Linked DNA regions of Homo sapiens: all the other regions are linked to region 2. The links are contacts of gene promoters, found by promoter capture Hi-C in human tissues and cell types (Jung and others, 2019). All regions are on one chromosome and are shown on one strand. The core of a region is centred on a gene start or on the middle of the fragment in contact, and the rest is flanking DNA. Distances in the headings are between cores, read along the strand shown. Region 1 overlaps LOC105373893 (a long non-coding RNA gene). Region 2 holds the start of EPHA4 (EPH receptor A4). Region 3 has its middle 610 kb from the start of MIR4268. Region 4 overlaps LOC105373893 (a long non-coding RNA gene).

Region 1 (3,010 bases), core at 314-2,813, 1.1 Mb after region 2:
TCCTGTGTGCACCTGGGCTCTGTCAATCTGATCAAAGATCAGTCTCTTTGTTACCAGATGGGGACATAAGCATCAAGACCATGTTGCTACTTCCAGGGAACTCCAGTATTCTGTTATTTCAGGTCTTCAAAAGTGTGTCATAAAACTAAGCTGCTTCAACTTGAACTTCAAATCACAAAAGTATAGGCCATTGGTATAGAGATAAGAGGAATTTCCCAATGAAAATAGAAATGCAAATTATCCGGAGGTATTAATGATCATTTCATGGTCATAAACTAAACATTGAAACGAGAGCATTAAGAAGAAACTGTGTGGCCCTAGCTGCTCTCTCATAAGGTAAGACAGCAAGTAAGAGAGGTGGGTGAGAGAGAGACAGAGAGAGAGAGAGAGAGAGAGAGAGAGAGAGAGATGGAAGGGAGGGTAGTTTTAAGAAGGAAATAATAGTCTGTAGACTAACAAGAAATAGTACCTAAAAGACAGAAGAAAACGAAATTGGCCAAAGAAAAGCTAGTTGTGTTAGAATTGGAAGGTGGTCAACCATTCCAGGTTTAAAATAAATAAAATAAAATAAAATAAAATAAAATAAAATAAAATAAAATAAAATAAAACAGCAGGGGGAGGTGTCATCTGGAAAGAATTAGGAGAAAGATAAGATGACCAACTCATCCCAATTTGCCCAGGAATTTCCCAGTTTGAGCACTGAAAGTTCTGCATCTTGGGAAATCCTCCAGTTCTCAGGCAAATGGATATGGTTAGTCACCCTCAAAAAAGACTATAATCTAAGATTACATTCTTGTTTTATTTTAATATGACCCTCACATTGAAATTGTTGCATTCCCCTCTCTGTATTTAGTTAGATGCCAATTAGTTTTTGTTCTATATTTATTTTATATAGTGTGGAAATTCTTAAATAAGGAGTACAACATGTAGATATATATTCACATAAACATATATATGTATAAAACACAAACACACACACACACACACACACACACACTGCTCTTAAGAAAATGAAGTTATCTCTACCTTACTCAGCATCACCTCACATTACATGAGCCAGGAAGTAACTTAGATTTATGATCAAATCTAATCTTATGACTGAGTCTAGTTCTTAAGATTAAAAATGTATAAAATGCTTTGAAAACTTAAAAGCAGCATACATGTGAGGACATAAGCCCATGCTATTAATGATCTGATTATATTAAATACCACTAGGGAGAAACTATTTTTGTAATCACTGAACTATTTTAAATGTATAGGTCAGTTATGATAAGGACAATTGATTTCATATATGAGGGTAAATTCTAAGTTGAAAAACAGATGTAGTAAAAGTGTCAAGAGCAATACACTGGGTTATTAAAAATATAGCCATAATATTAAGATTGAGAAAGGCTTAAATTCAAGAATTCAGATAAATAAAACATCATTAACAAATAATGCAAAAGCATGAGAACTTGACTCCTATCTAAGATCACCTTTTCCATCTTCTACTTCTATCATAATGATTTTAAAACTGGAAAATGTAGGTAACAAGCACAATTATCAGGGAACCAGAAGTAAAGATGGTAGAAGATAGTTAAGTAACATCTCTCTGTTTGAAATGAATAGAAGTCATTAGACCCAAATGACTTATATACAAGGCCAACTTATGAACACATGCTTACATTGCTCTAAAAGCAAGGTGTTCTAGTAGATGAAATACATTTTAAAATAGAGAAATACAGTTAGGAACTAGTGACTACATACAGCTGAGCTTGATGTTGACCCTGGCTATATTCTGAAGCCAAAGAGCCAACATAGACAATCAACCAATCATGCTAAGCTAATTTTCATTACAAAAAAATACAGGCAAGGAGGTCAGAAAAATACCATACAAAGAATATATTTTGATATCAGCAAGTTGAAAATACTTTGTGATTTGTTTTACAGTTTCCCTGTATATCTATACACACATGCACACATGTTGTCTGTTGATAATGGATCAATAACAGACAAGTAGGGTGGAACAAGATGTCTGCAATAGATGTCATCCAGTATTTTTCTTAATTACTACAAGTCAAGATATGTCCTTGTCAAGTTTGTATTAAATACACATCTGGTGATAAAATCAGTTTTCAAAAAGAATTTGACAAACTAGAATTAAAGATTGTATTGATTCCTATTAAAGTCATGCACTTGGGCCTCAGAAAGCAACTGAGTCAGTGAAGTACAGTGGATACCTGATATCACTATGAGATTGTTTATAAAATGCTTGGGAATTTTGGTTGATATCAGTCTCTTTATGAGCCAATGGGGTGGCATGGTTGCCAAGAAAAACTAATGCCTACTTAGCTCACACCAGTAGCAGTATCATGTTCGAAACAAAGAAGACAGTGCTCGTACAGTGGCAGTCCTTGGTTTAATCCTTGTGGTAGTCCATTTAGACTTACATAACAAAGTTCTGTAGACTGGGTGGCTTATGAACAACAGTCATTTATTTCTCGCAGTTCTGTGGCTGGGAAACCCAAGATCAAAACATCTTCAGTTTCCATGTCTGGTGAGAGCCCACTTCCTGGTGTACAGACATTCCTCATGTGGTGAAAAGGGAGAGGGAGCTTTCTGGGGTCTCTTTTATAAAGGAACTAATGCCATTTATGAGGGCTCCACCCTTATGACCTGATTACCTCCCAAAGCCCCCATCTATTCATGCCATCACATTGGCGATTAGGTTTCAACATATGAATTTGGGGAGTGGGAGGTGGACAAACAGTCAGTCTATAGACGTGTGAATAAATATTCACATATACATACGTGTGTATGTCACACACTCACACATATAGCAGTCCAGATTAACTGAGGCTTATCAAGAACAGTGATACCAGAACTGTGAAGAGACTAGAAACTAGATTATAGGAGGAGTAATTATTAGAGCAAAAAAAAAAAAAATACTATAACTGGAGACAGAGCACAGTGGAGGCATGATAATTATTTTCAAATATCTGAAATTACATTTTAAAGAAGAGGAATTGAG
Region 2 (2,987 bases), core at 49-2,548:
GAAAACTCGGCCCTGCTCTGGAGGGAGTCAGAGGAGGGGCGGCCTGGGAAGGGGAAGGGAGGCCTCATTGCTAGGAATCAGTGCCCCTGCCAGCGCCTGGGGAAATGCACCGAGTGGCGTTGGGGACCGGTCCCTGGGACACCGGCTGCGCTGCCTTCGCCGGACCGCTCTTAGGTGGCCGCGTCCACGGCTCGGGCATCGGGAAAAGACCACAGCCCGATGGTGCCAGTGCCCCCGGGGCCGGAGCAGCCGGGCGGGGCTCTGCGGGTCCTCCTGCTCGCCGTCTTCTCCCGGGGCAGGGAGGGCTGCCCCGGCTAGGTCGGAGCGGAGAGTCGCAGCAGCCGCTCCGGGCAGCTTCCCAGTCCCGGTCTGCCTTGTCTGTGCGGCTGCAAGTCCCCGCACCCACACTTAAGCCTTTCACTTCTACCCCACCGCTCCCAGACGGGCTAGGCCCGGTTCCAGGGACTGCCCCCAACCCTGCCCCCGGGAAATCCACAACTGGTTCCCTGCCCAAGGCCATCTCGGGGCGTCCTGGGCCCTGGGCGAGGTCCACGGCGTGTGCAGGGGGACGGGGCCAGCGGGGACTTCCTTACTGCTAGAAAGTCATTCGTTCAGTCTCTGGAGACAGTGACGGAGCCCTGCTGCGGACTGGACGTTGGGGACCAAGTAGGTCCCCGCTCTCCAGGCATCTGGGGAGCCAGGGAAGAAGCGAGTGATAGAGCCACAAAACTCCCCGCAAAGAGTATTTCAGAGGGGGAAGCGCCATAAAGACAAAACAGGGCAAGGTGGCAGAGGGTGGCGGTGGCAGGCGCGAGTCTGCAGCTCAGCCCGGGCGCGCTGGACGCAGACACGTCGACTCTCCTAAAGAAGCAACCGCAGGTCAGCTTAGACTTCTTTTATTTCAATAAAAGAGCGTTTTCCTCCATCTTAAACCGCCCGTGGTGGGAGAAAAGGTTTCCAACCTCTTCTCTGGCTCCCCTCGGTCAATTCCGAGCTTTTCCAAAGTCCCTCCGCCGTCCAGGGGCTCGACCTTCGAGGTAACGTGGGGGATCCCGCTGGCTCCCTCCGGCAGGCGGGGGCGGGGACCGGCCGTGCTCGCCCCCTAGAGCCCCGGGAGACCGCGCGCCCCGTGGAGCCCGGAGGGGGCGGAACCCTGGGGCGGGCCCTGCTCGGTGAAGGCGGGGCTCGGCCGCCCTGTCTGCGCCGCCATTGGCCGCGGGCCCCGGACTGGCGGGCTCACGTCACCGGCCGGGCCCGCCCCCTTGGCAATGTCTTCAGCCCGCTGCTCTCCTAACTTAAGCATTTATTCCACTGGGATAGAAGCGGCAGGAGCAGCGTTGGCACCGGCGAACCATGGCTGGGATTTTCTATTTCGCCCTATTTTCGTGTCTCTTCGGGATTTGCGACGCTGTCACAGGTTCCAGGGTATACCCCGCGAATGAAGGTAAGAGCGGGACGGCCTTTCTGTGGTCGGGGACAGCGAGGGGCCATCGCGGGTGAGGGGTCCTCAGGAGCGCAGGGCCAGGTGGTGCGGGGGGAGCCCAGTGTGAATGGTGCGTCCCGATTCGGGAGAAGGGGGCTGAGGCGAGGGGATCGGCGAAGGGGCAGCGGGGAACCGCCGGACAGCCTGCCCCGAGGCGGTGACCCGTGCACGCGGCGGGTCTGTCCAAGTTTGTAACCAAAGGCCAAAGTTTATCAGCATCCGCCAGAGAGGCCCGCTCGAGGCGCCCTGAGGGGATGCACGGGAGACAACGCCGGGATTTAAAAAAAAAATTACAAGAACCACGTCCTCTCCTGAGCCAGCCCGGGGCGAGGGGAAAACGCAGCCTGGAGCACAGTGAAGGCTTGGTGCTCCCGGATTCTAGCGAAAGCCTTTCGAGCTCTGGTTTCTGCAAAGTTTCCCGAGCCCTGCGCTTCTCGGGACCGGGCTGCGGGGCCTGCTCCGCAGCGCAGCGGTCGTGGCGCCGCTCGTCAGGCGCCAGTGACCTGATTTCTAGCACCCGGAGTCAGACACCTTTCTCCTCGCCAAGCCCAGCGCCCCGAGGGTGCGATTGCGGGCCTGAGGGGCCCGAGCTCTTCGCCCCGCAGACTTGGGGAACCCGCCGGCAAGTTGAACGCAGTCGAGTTTTAGCTTTTCGCCCCAGAATTGCACACAGTTTAGAGCTAACGTGCGGGGTCGACGGGACCCGTCTGGGTGCTCAGTTTTCTGTGCATCCGTTCGGACGTGCTGGGAGGATTGTATGTGCCTGTGTGTCTGTGTCGGGAGGTGGGGCGGGGCGGGGGGGCGGTGATCATTTAGTTTCTGAGAAACCCAGGGAGAGGCGAACTGTGTGTGTGTGTGTGTGTATGTGTGGTGTGTGTGTGCATGTCTGCGTGTGTGTGCATGTCTGCATGTGTGGTGTGTGTGCATGTCTGCGTGTGTGTGCATGTCTGCGTGTGTGTGCCTGTGTGTGTGCGCGCGCGTGCAACTGCGTGTATGTAGGTGCGCGAATGCCTGCGTGGAAGCGGACGCGGAGGATTGTATGTCTGTGCGCAGATGTCCTGAGTGTGTGCGCGTGTGTTCGAGTGTATGCTCGTGCTCTGTTCCAGCGTATGCTGGTGCTCTGGCCTGCGTGCATCTAGTCTCACATCCGTCTCTCATTCTTCTCCTTTCCGGCATCCATCTATCTATCCGTCCGTCCATCCGTCTATCTATCCATCCATGCATCCATCCATCTCTCCGTGCATCCGTCCGTCCGTCCATGCATCCATCCATAATGCATCCATCCATATATCTGTCCGTCCGTCCGTCCATCCATCCCTCCATCCATCCACCCATTCATCTATCCATCCATCCACCCATCCATCCATCCATTCATCTTTCCATCTCTCCAGACATCCGTCCATCCATCCCTGTGTAATCTATCGTTTTCTCTGTTCCGAAGGAGGGAGCCAAAAACCAACTTAGCCTTGGCTGGGCAGCCGGTACCCGGAGCCCTCCAGACGGA
Region 3 (2,838 bases), core at 315-2,814, 1.1 Mb after region 2:
GACATAGCATCTCCAATCTGCTCTTTTCTTTGAGGCATTCTAATTGGAAGTCCTGCCTGGAACACATGGTCAGAGTGAGGAGCCAAGAGCAGAACAAAGGACAACCACTCACACGCATTTCTTCTCAATCTGGTCCAGGCTTTCTGGCTCAGCAGGGAGGTCAACGCTGCAAAATACTAAATGGTGAAGGGTCAGCAGGTGGTAAGTGGTCACATCCCTGACAAGCCCTGGACATGAGAGAAGAAAGATTGGCTAGACAGATTTTTAAAGGAACTAAAATGGAGACTGGAAAATTAAGATAAAATGGAAGAGGGAAATTTAATGGGAAATTCACTACTCTAGACTTCCCTGCCTAATGCCCTTCCAGGATTTAAAACTGCTGAGAGAAGCTACAGCTTTTCTTTCCTTAAAAACTAAAAAAAAAAAAAAAAAAAAAAAAAAAAAAAAAAAATTGCTAAGGAGATATACTCCTGACATTGTGGAAAAAAAAAAAAAAATTGAGGTGGAAGTAGCTAGATTTGGATTTTAAGCCAAGCTCTTAAATAAACTTATTTTGTGGTCTTGGGGATATATTGTTGCTTCCAAGGGCCTCAGTTTTACTTAGTGTGAAATGGACTATAACCAGTGGATTGTATCAACAGCTCTAACTCTGTTGTCTAAGGACCTCTCTCACCAACCCTGTGAAATCTTTAAAAAAAAAAAAAAAAAAAAGGTGCGTGAAATACTGTGTGAATGTACAGTTTTCTTAGAATAGAAGGCTTTCCTCAGACTTGCAAAGGGATGCCCGATGGTGAGAAAGGAGACATTGGATTGATGAACCCTATGATTCTTTATAATGCTTAGAGAATAGGGTTTTACACTGTCATGTGGGTCCCGACTGTGAAATCAGAATTGTTCCAAGGAAGTTGTCTACATCAGGCAGTCTCAAGCCAATAGAACTTTACCCCAATACCGAGTCCACTCTACCTCCAGCAAGGGGAGGACTTTGCTAAGAAGTGAAGCTCAAGGTTTTGAAAATCTGGGCTGCCAACCCTTCCCCTCCCTGAAACTCACTGTCCAGCCTTCTTGCTAGCCTTCATCTTTCCCATTCCTCCTGGCCACTGGAGAAGTACAAATCCTACTCATCAACAAAGACAAGTCACCTGCTGACTCTTTCATGGCCAGAACGACAGAAGTCAGTGAGAAATAATGTATGATCTGATCTAGGAATGTCTTTACCTAATTGTTTAAGAATAAAAACAGTCAAATATCTCTCCTACAGATAATCCACATGTCAAAGACTGATAGATGGGAGTAGAAATAGAAGTCTACTTGCAAATGTTTCATGAAGCTTTTTCCAAGGCAGCCAATCCTCAGATGTTTCATTCCACATTGCCTTAAAAACTCCTGGTTCTCAGCAAAAACTTTTCTTTCTACCACCCCTATTTGAAGCACATGTGCGTGGACATGCACACACACACACCACACATAATTTTCGTTAAAAAGTAAAGTAAATATTAAAAAGACAGAAGGAACAAGAGTACATATCTGAAATTCTGGAGACGCATTTTGTTTTGTTTTGTTTTGTTTTGTTTTGTTTTGTTTTTTGAGACAGAGTCTTGCTCTGTGCCCTAGGCCAGAGTGCAGTGACACAAATCTCAGCTCACTGCAACCTCTGCCTCCCAGGTTGAAGCGAGTCTCCTGCCTCAGCCTCCCAAGTAGCTGGGACTACAGGTGTGCACCACCATGCCTGGCTAATTTTTTCTTCCTTCTTTCTTTTCTCTTTTTTTGTACTTTTAGTAGAGATGGGGTTTATCCACATTGCCCAGGCTGGTGTCAAACTCCTGACCTCAAGTTATTGCCTACCTCAGCCTTCCAAAGTGCTGAGATTACAGGCTGAGCCACCCCACACAGCCTCTTTTTTTTTTTTTTTTTTTTTTTTTGCATACAGAATTTTGAAAATTGGATTGAACAAAAAGGAAGAAAAGGAAACAAAGAAGAGGAAGAAATGGAATCCTCTAAAAGTTCCGTAACACTCTCATATGCCCTTCACAAGAAAACACTTCAATTGAGAATCTTAAAAGTAATAAATATCCTCACATTAGCACAGGTCAAGTTTTACCAAAAAGGTTTCAATCAGGAACTAAGTTACAATTTTTTAAGTGGTTAGAGCTGTTTAGATTTTGGAATTGTGGCTAATCTACTACGGGTTCCCAGTCACTCTCTCTGTTTTATTTTATTATTGGTTGGGATCTTAACCAAGATATGAGATAATTATCATAATCTATAAGTATTTATTATCATTTGTAGAAGATGGGGCACTTGCTTAAGATGACAAAGCTTTTCTCATTAGCTGTTTATAAGCCATAGACAATGCAGAAATTAGAAACACTGCATGACCATAACATTGTATAAATTCCATGTCATTCACAATATAAATTTAAAGTGCTTCTGTTTTAATGTGAAATTTGGGAGGGAGGACAAATTTGCTGCCTGTCTAATATCCACTCTTCCATTCCTTTTCTGGTTAATATTCCTTCCCTTCCTCTTCCATTCTTCACCTTGGTCATTATTTTCTCAGGGAAGTCTTCTTTGCCTGTCCTAACTAGTCCAACTTGCCTTACTAAAACTTTTCATGGTCATGGTATCATGTATGTTTCCTCCACTGAAAATACATAATTATTTGCATGATTTTTTAAAAATAGTACCTCACTCCACACGAGACTGTAAGTTCCCTGAGGCAGAGACTGATTCTTTTTTTTCTCACTATGATTTCTCCAGCAACTAGCAAACATTAGGCATACAGTAGGTACCTAATAACACAAATTGATGGGATGGGTGGACGAATGGGTGGATGGA
Region 4 (3,046 bases), core at 372-2,871, 1.1 Mb after region 2:
AGTTTGTTTTCCTTTACAACACATAGGGCTATCTCAAGCTCAATCTCTTACTTATATTTTTAACATACAGTTCACACTTTACACATGAATGTCTATGTAACAGATCCACTAATTCTATTTGTAAATGCAATAGAAAGGAGTCAGCCGAAAATATTATCACTTGGCATTAACTTATTTAACTGGATGTCCAGGCTTGAATTCAGAAAAGCATATTCTATTGGCATAATTCTCCTCCGCGGAAATTTCATTGAGAGGAAAAGATACATCTTATTTTGAACTTAAGGACTAGTAAAATGATTCAACATTAATCACCAACATTAAGTGGTTACTTGATGCCAAGCACCCTGCATATATCCCATTAAATATATGCTAAACCTTGCTGTAGCCCCATTTCTCAGATGAGAAGCTTGGGTAAAAAATAGGAATACTCTGGCTACAACTAAACTAATTTGACTGACCCAAGTATATTTTATTTTCCTTTACCTAAAAAGCAGTGAAAACGCGATGCTGTCGGGATCTGGGGCAGTGGCTCAATGACATCGTCTGAGAATCTGTTGTCTTTCTGTCTCGGAATCCTCAGCATGTTGGAATATTGTGAAAGGATTGTCTGCAAGATGATGGTTGCAGGACCTGGCACCACATTTTCTGTTTGTATCAGTCAAAGCTGGTCAGGAAAATAGAAAATTTTCTAGGCATTTTAAACAGAAGAAGGATTTTACTGGAATTGAGTGCTTACGGAATTGTTGGCAGGGAGGTCTGGAAGAATGGAGGTCTGTGCAGATTACTGCTGGAGTGTTCAATACCTCACTCATGACCTAATAAGAGGAACCACTTAATTATTTCCAACAAAAGGAAGATGTTGCCCTCAAAGCATCTGGGTCTTCTGGCTCCTGGTCTGGGTCCTCTGGCTCCTGGTCTTTCATCTTGTTAATCTGTCTTTCTCTGTTCCTCGGAGCTACTCCATCAGTCAAAAGGATTTTCTACAAAGTCCTTTTAATTTTCTAAGAGAGTGTTAAGAAATAAGGAGATGTTATCTGCCTAGGTTTCTCAGCCCTCTGCTTGTGAGGTTTCCTTCTTTTTGTTTCAGTAGTTCTCCCTTTCCCTCGATGAGGAGGGGCAGAAAGAGAGACCTGTCACGTTCTAGGGCTCGCTGCTTCCTTGGAACACAGCGGAAATGGACTCTCTCTTTTATTTCAGGGCAGATTGGCAGTGATGACATCCAAGAACAGCTATCCTTTTCTCAATTTGGATCCTGAGAGTGGGGTGTTCTTTCTTCTTCAACAGAAATATTCGATGCAGCCAGCAAGCGTAATTTATCATGACATAGAGCAAAATAGAAACATTCTTGCTGAACACGCCCGGCCTTTATCTCCTCCTCTTATTGATACATACAGGGTATCCCTGGAGAATCAAAGCCAATCTTGGTGGCACATGCTCCACTGGTAGCAGTTTTATCAAGCTCATATTTTTTTCGCAGATGAAGGAATGATGACCACCTGACAAAAGGACAGCAGAAGCAGAGGTTTCCAAGGATTTCCTAGCAAACTCTTAAAACAGTGACTGACTCTGTGACTTTGGACAAGTTACTTAACATCCTTGAAGGTCCACCTACTCTAAAAATAATGGAAATATTTCCAAGCACACAGTCACTGTGAGGGCTAAATCAGGCATTTAGGAGGAGGGGTAAAGCACAGATGACAGTATTTGTATCACCTGAAGCTCTTACTCCAAGTCACAGGCAGCTTTTACTTCCCCAGGTGACACTCTTGTTTGGACTCTTGTGTAAAGGTCATTCCTTGGGAAAACAGGGCATAAATCCACGTGATTCAATGATTGTAACCTACATCTATGTAGCTTCTTTTCAAATAAAGAAACCAACCTCCAGTAACCTCACTTTTATATTTCACTGAAGTCACATTACATATCAATATTATATAAGAAAATGCAGCTACGTATGCTTGCTCCTTTTTGTACCTTAAAGGAATCTAAAGTTTCATTTTGCTATGGTGTTCTTTTATTTATTAAATATTTTTATAAGCATTACTTGGCAGTTGTATCCATACACCCAGACATAAAAAAGTATGCTGTATTTTATAGCCAAGTTAACAGTATCTTTTGACTATTTTTGATGTTTGCCCCATGCCCCAAGAACTGAATTGAAAACCTAACTCCTAATACAGATGATACTCGGCTAAATAATTGATATTCATGTGAGTGGGCTCTGAGTCCAATGGGTTGGAGTCCAAGCTCCACACCACATTGTATATTAGTTGAATTATTTAAGCTCTCTGAGCCACAGTTCCAATATCTATATGAATGATTAAAACAACGTCTGGTAATTTGTAAACACTCAATAAATATTAGCTGCTATAATATTATTATTGTTACCTTGTTATTCCTCACTGATACCTAGCAATACTTACATTACCCTAAATAGGCTCTTGGATTCTCTAAATATGTTTCTCAATAAGCATGCAGCTTTTCTGTTCCAGTTTATTATTGGTAGCTTTTTTTCCCCCTAAAGTTCTTTAAGCATGAGAAATATTAAATTCGAAAGAACTAGTTTTTTAGGACTCTGGCCTGGACATTGAGTTGGAAGACATTATTGTCACTGAAGAAGAGAATAACAAAGAGGAAAGGCTTCCTTGTGTCCTCATTTTCACTTTGATGTGCCACAAATAAAGAATAAGCTGACACTCCTAAAATATGACGACACCATATTGTTGTTACTCCGTATCCTGGCACCTCAGTTCCCCTGCATGCTGCACAGGCTGCTGAAGCCTTTGAAGTTAGAAAACACTACTGCCTGATCGCCAGCGCTCATAATGAAGACACAGTATGGTAAATCAAAAGAGACATGTCACCTCATGTCTACACTCCCTTCCCAACAGGGAGAGGCAGGAAGGAGGAAGGAGAGGAAGAGGAGGAGGGGGAAAGCAAGCTCAAAATTGTGATTATAAATCAACTGGTCCTGCCTCTCAGGAGTAAAAGACCAGCAACTTTTATATTACAACTCAATCCCATCTTGCGTCTTCAAATCAATTTC

Evidence for each region. The method cuts DNA at HindIII sites, captures the fragments that hold promoters and counts their contacts. A contact is called where the count stands out against the background at its distance.
Region 1: a fragment that was not itself captured here is called in contact with the fragment with the promoter of EPHA4 in region 2 in 1 of the 25 tissues and cell types used here (IMR-90 fibroblasts).
Region 3: a fragment that was not itself captured here is called in contact with the fragment with the promoter of EPHA4 in region 2 in 2 of the 25 tissues and cell types used here (dorsolateral prefrontal cortex and heart left ventricle).
Region 4: a fragment that was not itself captured here is called in contact with the fragment with the promoter of EPHA4 in region 2 in 1 of the 25 tissues and cell types used here (dorsolateral prefrontal cortex).

Annotation. Positions count from the first base shown.
Region 1 is chr2:220,471,503-220,474,512 of GRCh38, reverse strand. The region is part of intron 4 of LOC105373893 (a long non-coding RNA gene); the gene reads right to left. Among named protein-coding and RNA genes, the nearest start is that of MIR4268, 570 kb to the right of the region's middle. The HindIII fragment of the contact is 9,613 bases long and covers 1-3,010 here.
Region 2 is chr2:221,570,615-221,573,601 of GRCh38, reverse strand. EPHA4 (EPH receptor A4) reads left to right here and starts at 1,298. Exons shown (of 18, transcript NM_004438.5): 1 at 1,298-1,444. The coding sequence starts at 1,354. RefSeq lists silencers at 43-322, 923-1,342. The HindIII fragment of the contact is 17,926 bases long and covers 1-2,987 here.
Region 3 is chr2:220,518,983-220,521,820 of GRCh38, reverse strand. No RefSeq gene overlaps it. Among named protein-coding and RNA genes, the nearest start is that of MIR4268, 610 kb to the right of the region's middle. The HindIII fragment of the contact is 6,151 bases long and covers 1-2,838 here.
Region 4 is chr2:220,491,595-220,494,640 of GRCh38, reverse strand. LOC105373893 (a long non-coding RNA gene) reads right to left here. Exons shown (of 5, transcript XR_001739889.2): 5 at 1-1,496. Among named protein-coding and RNA genes, the nearest start is that of MIR4268, 590 kb to the right of the region's middle. The HindIII fragment of the contact is 5,873 bases long and covers 1-3,046 here.